Regions from separate parts of the Homo sapiens genome. Here region 2 is linked to region 1. Evidence: promoter capture Hi-C in 16 types of primary human blood cells and fetal thymus (Javierre and others, 2016). All regions are on one chromosome and are shown on one strand. The core of a region is centred on a gene start or on the middle of the fragment in contact, and the rest is flanking DNA. Distances in the headings are between cores, read along the strand shown.

Region 1 (5,459 bases), core at 1,721-4,220:
CCCTGGAGAGGGTCACTCCTCTCTGAAGCTGGTAGTTCTGACATCTCTGCAAGTCTCTGAAGCTCTCAGCTGAGAGGGTAGCTCCTCTCTGCAGCTGGTTGTCCCATCATCTGCTCAGCTCTGGCTGAGTTGGGGATTTTATGGGCCTCAGAGGGGAGCAAGTGCCTGCCGCTGATTGGTCCATGGGCAGCCATGGGCAGGCTCGGAAAAGGCACCACAAGTTCCCACTCTGGTTCATGGGGCTGGCAGCCCAACCCCCAGCCTTCAGGCCCTCCTTGGCCAGAAGCTGGGGCCTCACTGGGGACCCACCCCCTTCTGCCCAGGAGTCTGTCTGCCTCCCACTGCCATTCATGGTGCCTGGGTTCAGCCTCAACTTTGCTCCAAGAATGGAGCAGGTGCCAACAGCAGGGAGAAGCCAGGCAGCAGGAGCAGGCATTTCTGAGCCTGTGAGGGCATGCAGGGCCTTCCTGGGCCCCCAAGAGTGCAGGGATGCCTGGGGCTGCAGCCGTGGTTTGGGTGGCTACAGCTGCCCTCGGGGAGGGCAGGGCTCCTGCCTGCTCCTGGCCCCCTAAGAGCACAGGGAGGCTCAGATCTGCAGCCACACCTTGGGTGGTGCTTCTGCCTGCTCTGTGGAGCAGGAGGCCCCAGTCTGCAGCTGTGCTGCAGAGGCAACCAGGGAGTTCCCACCCCAACTCAGAAGGGGTGGGTCTCCCGCTTGTCCCTGGCTCCCGCCAGAGAGCGTGCAGCCCTGGCCATGCCTCCCTGCTGCAGCAGTAGGCCGTCTGGAGCAGCCGCTGCCATCTCTAGTACAGTAATTCTCATAATTTTATTTTGCCTTGGTATCCATTTTGAATATGTTTAACTTTCTCATATGAGAAGCAGGGCTCAATCACCTTTGATACAGTTTCCAGTTCTCTGCTTCCTCCCAGTTCTTCAATGTGATCCATCCAGATATCTGCTTAATGCAACTGCTTCCTGGTGACCATCTCCCTATGGGACAGGTAAATGCAGCCTGCTTGACTCACCTGTTGACCTCCATAACCCACATGGACTGTGTAGATGGGCTCCAGTGACCACCTCACAGTGACAGGGTGACTCCATGGAACTTGTGCCTGCTTGTTCTAAACTCACCAATTAGAACTTCCATGGGAAACTGCTTGGGTAACACGCTGGACCCCAACAGAGGCTTTAGCTCCACAAGTGCCCCTTCCTTGACCCCCTTCCACTGGCTGAACTCCCTGTCACCTCCAGATTTACCCTCCCTCTGGTGACCACAAGACCAAATTAGAAAGAAACCATAACAATAAAAATCACAACACCCAGCAGTCAACATGTACATCATTATCAGAAAAGAGGAAAGATACAAAGGAAGCAAAGTTTTCCTTGTAGTAAACTTCAGGAAAATTTTCCTGCATGGAACTTTACAAAAGATAGAATAAAAAGTGGGCTGTGCATGGTGGCTCACACCTGTAATCCCAGCATTCTGGGAGGTCAAGTTGGGTGGATCACTTGATGTCAGGTGTTCAAGACCAGCCTGGCCAACATAGAAACACCCATCTCTACTAAAAATACAAAAATTACCCAGGTGTGGTGGTGTGTGCCTGTGATCCCAGCTACTCAGGAGGCTGAGGTGGGAGGATCATTTGAGCCTGAGATGCAGAGGTTGCAGCGAGAGGCGATCACACCACTGCACTCCAGCCTGGCCGACAGAGCCAGAACCTGTCAAAAAATAAAAAATAAAAATAAAAATAAAAGTGCCTTCAACATCATTTTACAGCAGATGCAGTAATGGAATTCAGTCTACTTTTTGTTTCTACATTGGATAAAAGTTGAGGACATAATGAAGGATGTTTTGCTTAGGACTAAAAAATACAAGAAATTTCTGTGGCACTAGACGTATGCTCATAGCAGCACACTTTTCAAACAGTATTCTTTTTTTTTTTTTTTTTTTTTTTTGAGACAGAGTTTCACTCTTGTTGCCTGGACTGGAGTGCAATGGTGCAGTCTCAGCTCAGGGCAACCTCCGCCTCCCGGGTTCAAGCAATTCTCCTGTCTCAGCCTCCCGAGTAGCTGGGATTACAGGCGTGTGCCGCCACACCTGGCTAATTTTGTATTTTTAGTAGAGACAGGGTTTCACCACGTTGGCCCGGCTGGTCTCAAACTCCTGACCTCAGGTGATCCACCTGCCTCGGCCTCCCAAAGTGCTTGGATTACAGGCGTGAGCCACCGCCCCCTGCCCAGTATTCTTAAATGCAAGCTTTCCCATTAGAGATCTGATAAAAGCTAGGTAGCATTAATTATACTGCAACGTGCTTTGATGAGTACCTACACACTAAATTGATATCCCGAGTTTCTGGAAGAGCTACATACTCTAAATCCCATCTCAGCGTATGGCTTGTTTGAACCCCTGTAAGACTCTTTCCGTCCAGGAAGGGCCATGGGACATCGGTACGAGTGGGTGGGCTGGAGAAAGAACTCCTTTGCCTGTTTGCTGTTCTCATCCTTTTCCTGAACGCCACGTAGTAAACATCATTTATGCTTATCAGGGACGCTAAACCAACAACCTGAGATCCATAAGTAAGGCAGTGACCAACGATGGGCTGCCACACTTTCAGCCAACTTGAGGAGACAAAACTTTTTTGTTCACTTTTGCAGCTTACTTAACACAGGACCGCAGGGCATGGTCCAGGGAGTACGGGGAGATAATTCCCTCCGGGTGGTTCTTATAGAAAAGTCTTCCCTGAATTATTCCATAACCTTGGAAAACTACTTTCTTTCCTTTTGTATTGGACAAACCATCCAATCTCGCTTGGAGAATGGGGCAAGGCCTCGGGTCACCGGGCTTCGGCGGGGCAGTGAGGGGCGGGAACACGGCTCCGGAGGGCGGGGCCAAGCCGGAGCGAGGCGGCGGGTCCGGACGCCGTGCGCGTGCGCGCGGCAGGTCGGCGCCGGGCGGGGGCGGAGCGGCCGTCGCAGGTCCACGCCGTAAACAGACAACATGGCGGCCGCGGTGGCGGCGGCACCTGGGGCCTTGGGATCCCTGCATGCTGGCGGCGCCCGCCTGGTGGCCGCTTGCAGTGCGTGGCTCTGCCCGGGGTTGAGGCTGCCCGGCTCGTTGGCAGGCCGGCGAGCGGGCCCGGCGATCTGGGCCCAGGGCTGGGTACCTGCGGCCGGGGGTCCCGCCCCGAAAAGGGGCTACAGCTCTGAGATGAAGACGGAGGACGAGCTGCGGGTGCGGCACCTGGAGGAGGAGAACCGAGGTGAGGTGCGAACGCTGGGCAGGCGCGGGGCAGCGGGCGGCCGCTCGCTCTCAGGACGGGCATAAGGTGCAGCGTCCGCCGGCAGGACGCGGGGTCGAGGTCAGGCAGGCGCACCGAACCTGGGTCCCTCCCCTTTCTCACCTCCCTACTCACCCAGCGTGGCCGCTTCCTTGTGCACCTATTTCTTGCTTTTAATAACCTAAACGTGTACCCCCGAGCAGCTTACCTGTAAAGTGACCGCATTCAGCGCGGCAAACAGAAGTGCAGCTTACGCCCTCCGCTCCAGACAAGCCAAGGTCAATATATACCCTGGGGATTTAATCCTTGCTACCAGGCTTTATTGTTGCTGTGTAATGGCTTTCTGTAAACTCAGCTATTAGTGGTGGAGTTGTAAAAGCTGCGGTGAAACTGCCTTTTATTATTACGGAGAATCTTAAATTTGAAGCTGCTCAGCTGGAACAATTTTTCCTCTTGTTCATTTTCTCTTAGAAAGTTAGTCTTGAGGGACTGTTCCACTTCATTTAAACAATTTTGAGCACTTTTTATTTTCCTCAGCTCTGGCGATAAGAATGTGGATGGTATGGATCTTGCCCTTGAGCTACCTTCTACGGGAGGAGACATCATTAGCAATACAATACAGAGCTTTGAAGGCTTTGAAGGAGGCTGACAATCCTAGGGAATACTGTTACAGCTCAGTTCCTTTCACTGGCAGTGCAGGGAAAAGCTAAAAGGGTCGTGAAGGGTGGAATAGCAGTTTCCACCCTTAACCTCCGGGTTAAGCCAGAGGACCAGTGTTTTAATTTTGACATGCATTTGTTGAGCACCTATAATCTGTTAAGCAGAAGTGAAAAGCGTGTAAGTCGTGATTGGTTTTAGTGTAGTGAAGCAGATCCTGGTTATTAGTAGGCTGTGTGAACTTTCAAGGCATGGTAAGAGGAAAGGGCTGTAATACCTGCAGGGTTTCGCCATTTGAAAGGGGTTCCAAGGCATTCTTTAATAGGCAGTGGATTTTGCCATTTGTGAGGGTTCTTGGGCAGACTTATCTCACGTGTAAAACAGGAAAAACAATACCAACTTTATAGGTTTGTTATGAAGATGAGATGAGATTGTTAATGTAAATTGCCACTAGCACGTAGCAGTGCTTCAGGAGTGTGATGAATGACTTTATTCCTTACTTATTATTCCAGACAGAGACAAGAACATGGTCAAAGGCATGGAGATGTGAACATGTGTGGTGTATTTGGGACGTAACATAAGGCAAGTGTGGCATAAGCAGAATAGTAAGAAATTCAGCTGGAAGCATAGACTAGCACTGGAGTGATTAGAGCCTGAATGCCATCATCTTTTGGGTAAGCTTAGTCATGCCGGGACTTCACTTCCGTTAAGTGTACCAACAATATGTTAGATATAAAGGGATTGCAAGTACAGCTACTAATATGCACCATATTCTATTTTTTTGGTCGTTATGACTTGAATGCAATTAAAGGAATATTTGTGCAGAATGTCTGGACAGACTTTAAGTTAGGATCTGAATGGACAGAAGAGAGAATATCAGATAATAAAAGATAATAAACGAAAATTTTTTTGGGTATCATGGTTTCTTTTTTTTTTTTTCTTTAGCCTTGATTTCCTGATGAGATAGGACATACATCATGGTTTCTTAAAGTTGACCCCGCCTCCTTTGAGAATTGGCAAGAATGACGACTCAGGCTTGGCTAACATTACCTAGGCTTTGCTTTGCTTTACTGTTGAACCAGCAATAAGCAGTGCAAAGAAAAACATGAGGTCAAGGGTACTACAGGTGAAGGAGTTTCCTGGGTGCCTTTATTTCTCTTAGAGGTGGGTCCAAAATTTGGTGCTCTCAGCAGCCTCTAAGGAATAGGATAACTCTCCTAGTCACAGGAGCCTCAAACAGCATGCAGCACTTTAGGTGGGTGGGGGTAAGTAGTGCAGAATACACCAGGTCTCATCTGTTATCTGGGCTCCATATTTGTAATTTGTTGTAGGAGGCATAGCTCTATAACCAAATTTCCTTTTCTTTTCTTTTTTTTTCTTTTGAGATGGAGACTGCCCAGGACTTTGAGGCTGCAGTGAGCTATGATGGAGCCACTGCACTCCAGTCTGGGTGACACAACAAGACCTTGTCTCTTAAAAAAAAAGAAAAAATGTATGAACCTATTTATGTAGAATAGCTCCAAC
Region 2 (5,422 bases), core at 870-3,369, 42 kb before region 1:
CAAGACCTTACTTATCGCCCCCCCCCCCCAAAAAAAATGTAACTCCTTAGGAATAAAAGGAATATCATAAACAAGCAATTCCAATCCCACTAGAGACCAAAGAAACGCAAAGTAAAATTACACCGTGATACTTTGGTTTCATGATGTCAACCAACCAAACACCACCGCCTCTCCTTCCCACTCACAGAGCCCCCAAGAATGAGAGAAAATGTGTTTAAAACCAAATAAATGTATAACTATATTCAAAAATAAGAAACACAAACCTCAGAGCTCCAGAAGGTTTAAGAATTCCCAGCAAGGTGGCTATCCGGCAGGCCTAGATAGTGAGAGGAAGCTGCGGTCAGTCACAACCCGAGAAAGCTCCCACTGGGTTCCGCCCCAGTGACTGAACAGGAGAGCCCTGTGGGGAACCTGAGTGATCCTCAGGGGCATTGGCTGGGCGAGGACACAGCAGCCACAGCCACCAGCCAGGCCAATCGCAGTGGGGAGCAGCGCAGGGCAGAGTCGGCGGCCGGGGGCGGGGGTGGTTGGGGTGGCCTGCGCCCTGGTAGCCCACAGCGCCCCTGTGCAGTGCACGCATGCGCATGCGCCCCGCGGGAAGGCTGCACAGCTGCATAGCCATCTTGTGCCCATTGTTTGGCCTTTTTTGATTTTCGGTTTTTCATTGTTGTGCCCATTTTTATAAAGAGGAATGCTGAGACTCTGAGAGGTTGACTTGTCGAAACTCTCCCAGCTGGCCATGAAAAGCAGCGGTCAGGTCAGGCACTTTGTTCTTCCCCCGATATACCCGGGAAATGAGACTAAGGCGTCTCTCCAACCTGCATGAGAAAAGGAAGGAGTCCAAGGGAGTATCCAAAGTGACTTTGCTCTGTCAATCAGTAAAACTGCTGTCTAAGCATCTACTTGTATAGATATATAATAACTGTGTAATAACTTTATTCTTTTTTGTCCTCAACCAGCAAACATTCCCAAATTAAAACAGCCCCCATCAGCGTAGGTCTTCCATTGCTCATGGATATGCACACGTGTTTCCTCTCCTGAAGTCAGATTCCTCACAAATGGGCACCTTTTTGACACACAGCCGTTGTTAATTAAAACCTTAAAAGAAATCATGTTACATTTTTTAAAAAACTAGTAGCTGTTAAGCTCATTTTTTGAAAACTATGAATTATTTCTCAGAAATGAAAATTATTGGCAGCACCCACCTGGTTTTTGTTGCTTTGTGTTCTGTGGGGCAGAGATGGGGAGTTGTTGAAGTGTAGTATTAATTACCACTGGGATGTCTTGTGCTGGGCCACCAGCTACTTGCACCAAAAAAATTTAAATAAGAAAAACTTGTGGTTGGGTGTGGTGGCTCACGCCTGTAATCCCAGCACTTTGGGATGACAAGGCGGGCGGATCACCTCAGGTCAAGGGTTCGAGACCAGCCTGGCCAACATGGTGAAACCCTGTCTCTACTAAAAATACAAAAATTAGCCAGGTGTGGTGGCGGGCACCCGTATTCCCAGCTACTCAGGAGGCTGAGAGAGTAGAATCACTTGAACCCAGAAGACAGAGGTTGCAGTGAGCTGAGATTGTGCCACTGCACTCCAGCCTGGGTGACAAGAGCGAGACTCCATCTCAAAAAAAAAGAAAAAAAAGAAAAAAAAAATCTTGCCAAGGATGTGAAATTGTGGCATACTCAAAATACCAGTGAGGATACAGAAGTAAGAGAACATGCAGAATTATGAACCATATAGTCTTCCCAGAAAAAGGTACACAAGGATATCTCTGGAAAGGTAATAAAAAATACAACTGGTTTAAAGAGTCAGCCATGCACGGTGGCTCACACCTGTAATCCCAGCACTTTGGGAGGCTGAGGCAGGCGGATCACCTGAGGTCAGTAGTTCAAGATCAGCCTGGCCAACATGGTGAAAGCCTGTCTGTACTAAAAATATAAAAATTGGCCGGGCGTGGTGCGCGCATCTGTAATCCCAGCTACTTGGGAGGCTGAGACAAGAGAATTGCTTGAACCCGGGAGGCGGAGGTTGCAGTGAACTGAGATCATGCCACTGAACTCCAGCCTGAGTGACAGGGCAAGACTCCATCTCGAGGGAAAAAAAAGAGAGAGAGAGTTTGGCAGTAATTCCCAGAGGTTGCTTATTTTGATTCTAGTGGATGTAAGGAAAAAATTAATTCAAGAATTAGTGAAAATAAGACCCGGGGTAGTATGAGCACCAGAAAATAGACGACACTTCCTGACGAAGAGGCGCTACTTAGAAAGTTGGGAGAGAGAAGCTGTCACTGCTAAGTCATGCTGGAGACCGGCAAAGAGTGGTTACTGTCTGCTGAGTATCGATAAGTCTACAGAGAGGCAAACAGAAGTACTTGTGTAGAGCCTTCTAAAGTAAACTATTTCAGCTAAGTAGCCCAGACAGGTATGACGGCCATTTTTTATACCTCACTTTTGTCAATCTGATCCACTTGAGAAGGAAAAGGTTACTTTGGGGAAAAAACCTTAATAAAGTCCAAAGTTCTGGAGGTCAAGAAACTTTTGAAAGAGTACATGGAAGAAATCATGGTAGGAAAGGAGGGAGAAAAAGGAAGTTGTTCAAGAATAACATAGCAATCTAACAAAAGGGAGATGAAGAACAGGAAGGAACCTCAAAATTAATAACCCCTGAAGTAAACATATTTCAGTATAACAGGGTTAAAAAACAAAGTTGTTCTAACAGCTATGTCAGATTTCTAGTGAGAGAGGGAACTTTCTTTCTGAGAAAAGAACTTTGATATGATACTGGGATCCCAGCAGAAATGCTAAAAACCGTGATGTTTGTAGATGCCTGGCACAAACATAGGTAAGTTGCTTTGCAGAGAAAGTGAGTCAGATGATGGTGGTGATTTGTGCTTTTTTAGGGCAGCGGGGAGGATTGCTTTTGAAAGAAAGAGGATGGAGGAGAAAAGAGAAGGGAGGGAACCCTGCCTGGCTAAAGAGCCAATGCAGACTCCCTGTGGGTGGGCAGCCACAGGACCCAGAAGGCCACTGTCTGATTTGAAATAGTTTCCATTGCCGAATGGAAACAGTCCAGAATATTTCCTCCTTAGATTTTCAGTAGGTCCTACTAGACTCAGAAATGCTTTTTGTGAGTTTTTGTTTGCTGGACTTTATATCTGAGTGAGCATTCTGCAGAGCAGCTTGTCTGAAAGCAGGAGTCCAAGGCCATGGCCATGAAGGCTGACCCGAGGAACCTGCAGAATCTGGAAGGAGACTTGGACTGTGACGACCCATGCAACTAAGACCTGGAGGTCATCTTATCTAGATCTCAGGGGTTAGGGAACACCCCTACCTGCTAATTTTCAATGACCATGAATCGCCTAATGGATACCCAGTTCTGTGCAACATGCTGTAAAGGAAACATAACAAAAAGAAACTATCTCCTTGTGAAGAGTTTTAAATCTACCTGTAAAGGAAAGACCAAAATGCTAAAAGTAGTAAGAGCCAATAGAGTACATTATCAAGAGGTAGAATAGGTAGAAAGAAATCTATCTGGCTGGGTGCAGTGGCTCACGCCTATAATTCTAGCACTTTGGGAGGCCAAGGCGGGCAGATCACAAGGTCAGGAGTTCAAGACCAGCCTGGCCAAGATGGTGAAACCCTGTCTCTACTAAAAGTACAAAAATTAGCTGGGCATGGTGGCGCATGCTTGTGATCCCAGCTACTCGGGAGGCTGAGGCAGAGAATTACTTGAACCCAAGAGGCGGAGGTTGCAGTGAGCCAAGATTGTGCCACTGCATTCCAGCGAGGGCGACAAGGCGAGACTCCATCTCAAAAAAAAAAAAAAGAAATATATCTACCAAAGAAACTCAGGAAACAGAACTGGGAAGAAACTAAAGGACATTTTGGCAATTAAAGAACCTGGATTAGTCAGGTGTGGTAGTCACACCTGTAATCCCATCACTTTGGGAGGCCAGGAAGGAGGATTGCTTGAGCTCAGGAGTTCGAGACCAGCCTGGGCAACATGGGGAAACCCCATCTCTGCAAAAAATTTAAAAATTAGCCGAGTGTGGTGGTGTGTGCCTGTAGTCCCAGCTGGTCAAGAAGCTGAAGTAGGACAATCACTTGAGCCCAGGAGGTCAAGGCTGCAGTGAGCCGTTATTGTACCACTGCACTCCAGCCTGGGTGACACAGCAAGACCCTGTCTCAGGAAAAAAAAAAAAAGACATAAAAAGAAAGCAAAAAAGAAAGAACCTAGATGAGAAGGAAAATTTAGAACTTGGATGAGCAGGGAAGACGTGTTGGGCATGAATACTACTGTTGGGGGCAGGGGGCGGTAAAGTGATGAAGTACTCTGCATCATTGCAGAAGGGAATTTATTCAGAGGATTAGTAACAGAATTCAAAGATGAACATAGAACCAGTTGCCAAAGGACCTTGAATTCCAGGCTTAAGAAAATGCCTTTGATTCACTTAGGAATGGCTGGAGGAAATGTAACCTTGTAAATGCTGCTGAAAGACTTATCAGGGGTGTCAGCTCAAGGTGAATCCAGGTGGGAGAGTCAGGAGAGCAGGTGAGCAGGAGTCAAGAAAAAGATCTGGAGAAGCCAAAGAGCTCTTCCTTCCCTGGGTACATTAGTGTGTTCTGAACACTTCAACAACAGTGAAACCCCAGCAGAGCCAGGGTCACTGAAGATGGTGCATTGTAATGAACCTGTTCTTCATTTTCCGCAAAGTATGATAAGTATCATGATGTTATTTTTTGCTTCTTCAGTTTGTAGTTGCTTTTGTATTGTATGCCCCAAGTGGCACCTAATATCATACCAACATCAATACAGAACAAAATTGGGATAATTACTGAAATAATTCAAGGGAAAATATTCTGAATTTTTTGATATTTTAAATGAGTGTGTTTCTAGAAAAATCAAGATAATTGTCTATATTTTCCACTTCACTTGCTGTGAACATGCAAATTAGGCCTAAAGCTTGCAAAACACACTTAAAAACTCACTTTTTCCAGGTAGAAGGAAGCATCTTAGCACCTCCTCAGAGTCATGGAATAAGGCAGAAATGAGGGAAGTGTCACTCTTCCCATTCATTAAGTTTGAGAGTAAATTAGCCTCAGGCCAGAAAGTTCTAGGATAGAGCAAAGTGTACTATAGGCCAAGCATGGTGGCTCACACCTGAAATTCCAGCACTTTGGGAGGCTGAGGCAGGCGGATCACCTGAGGGCACGAGTTCAAGACCAGCCTGGCCAACATGGTGAAATCCTGTCTCTATTAAAAATACAAAGAATACAGGTGTGGTGGTGCACACCTGTAGTCCCAGCTACTCAAAAGGCTGAGGCAAGAGAATCACTTGAACCCGGGAGGTGGAGGTTGCAGTGAGCTGAGATCATGCCACTACACTCCAGCCTGGGCAACAGAGCGAGACCCTTGTCTCAAAAAAA

The links. The method cuts DNA at HindIII sites, captures the fragments that hold promoters and counts their contacts. A CHiCAGO score of 5 or more calls a contact.
Region 2: a fragment that was not itself captured here is called in contact with the fragment with the promoter of AUH in region 1 in 2 of 17 cell types (neutrophils and megakaryocytes); the score reaches 6.0 in neutrophils.

What each region holds. Positions count from the first base shown.
Region 1 is chr9:91,359,429-91,364,887 of GRCh38, reverse strand. AUH (AU RNA binding methylglutaconyl-CoA hydratase) reads left to right here and starts at 2,970. Exons shown (of 10, transcript NM_001698.3): 1 at 2,970-3,260. The coding sequence starts at 2,999. RefSeq lists silencers at 1-55, 2,800-3,239. The HindIII fragment of the contact is 2,357 bases long and covers 2,260-4,616 here.
Region 2 is chr9:91,400,990-91,406,411 of GRCh38, reverse strand. No RefSeq gene overlaps it. Among named protein-coding and RNA genes, the nearest start is that of NFIL3, 20 kb to the left of the region's middle. The HindIII fragment of the contact is 5,682 bases long and covers 1-4,960 here.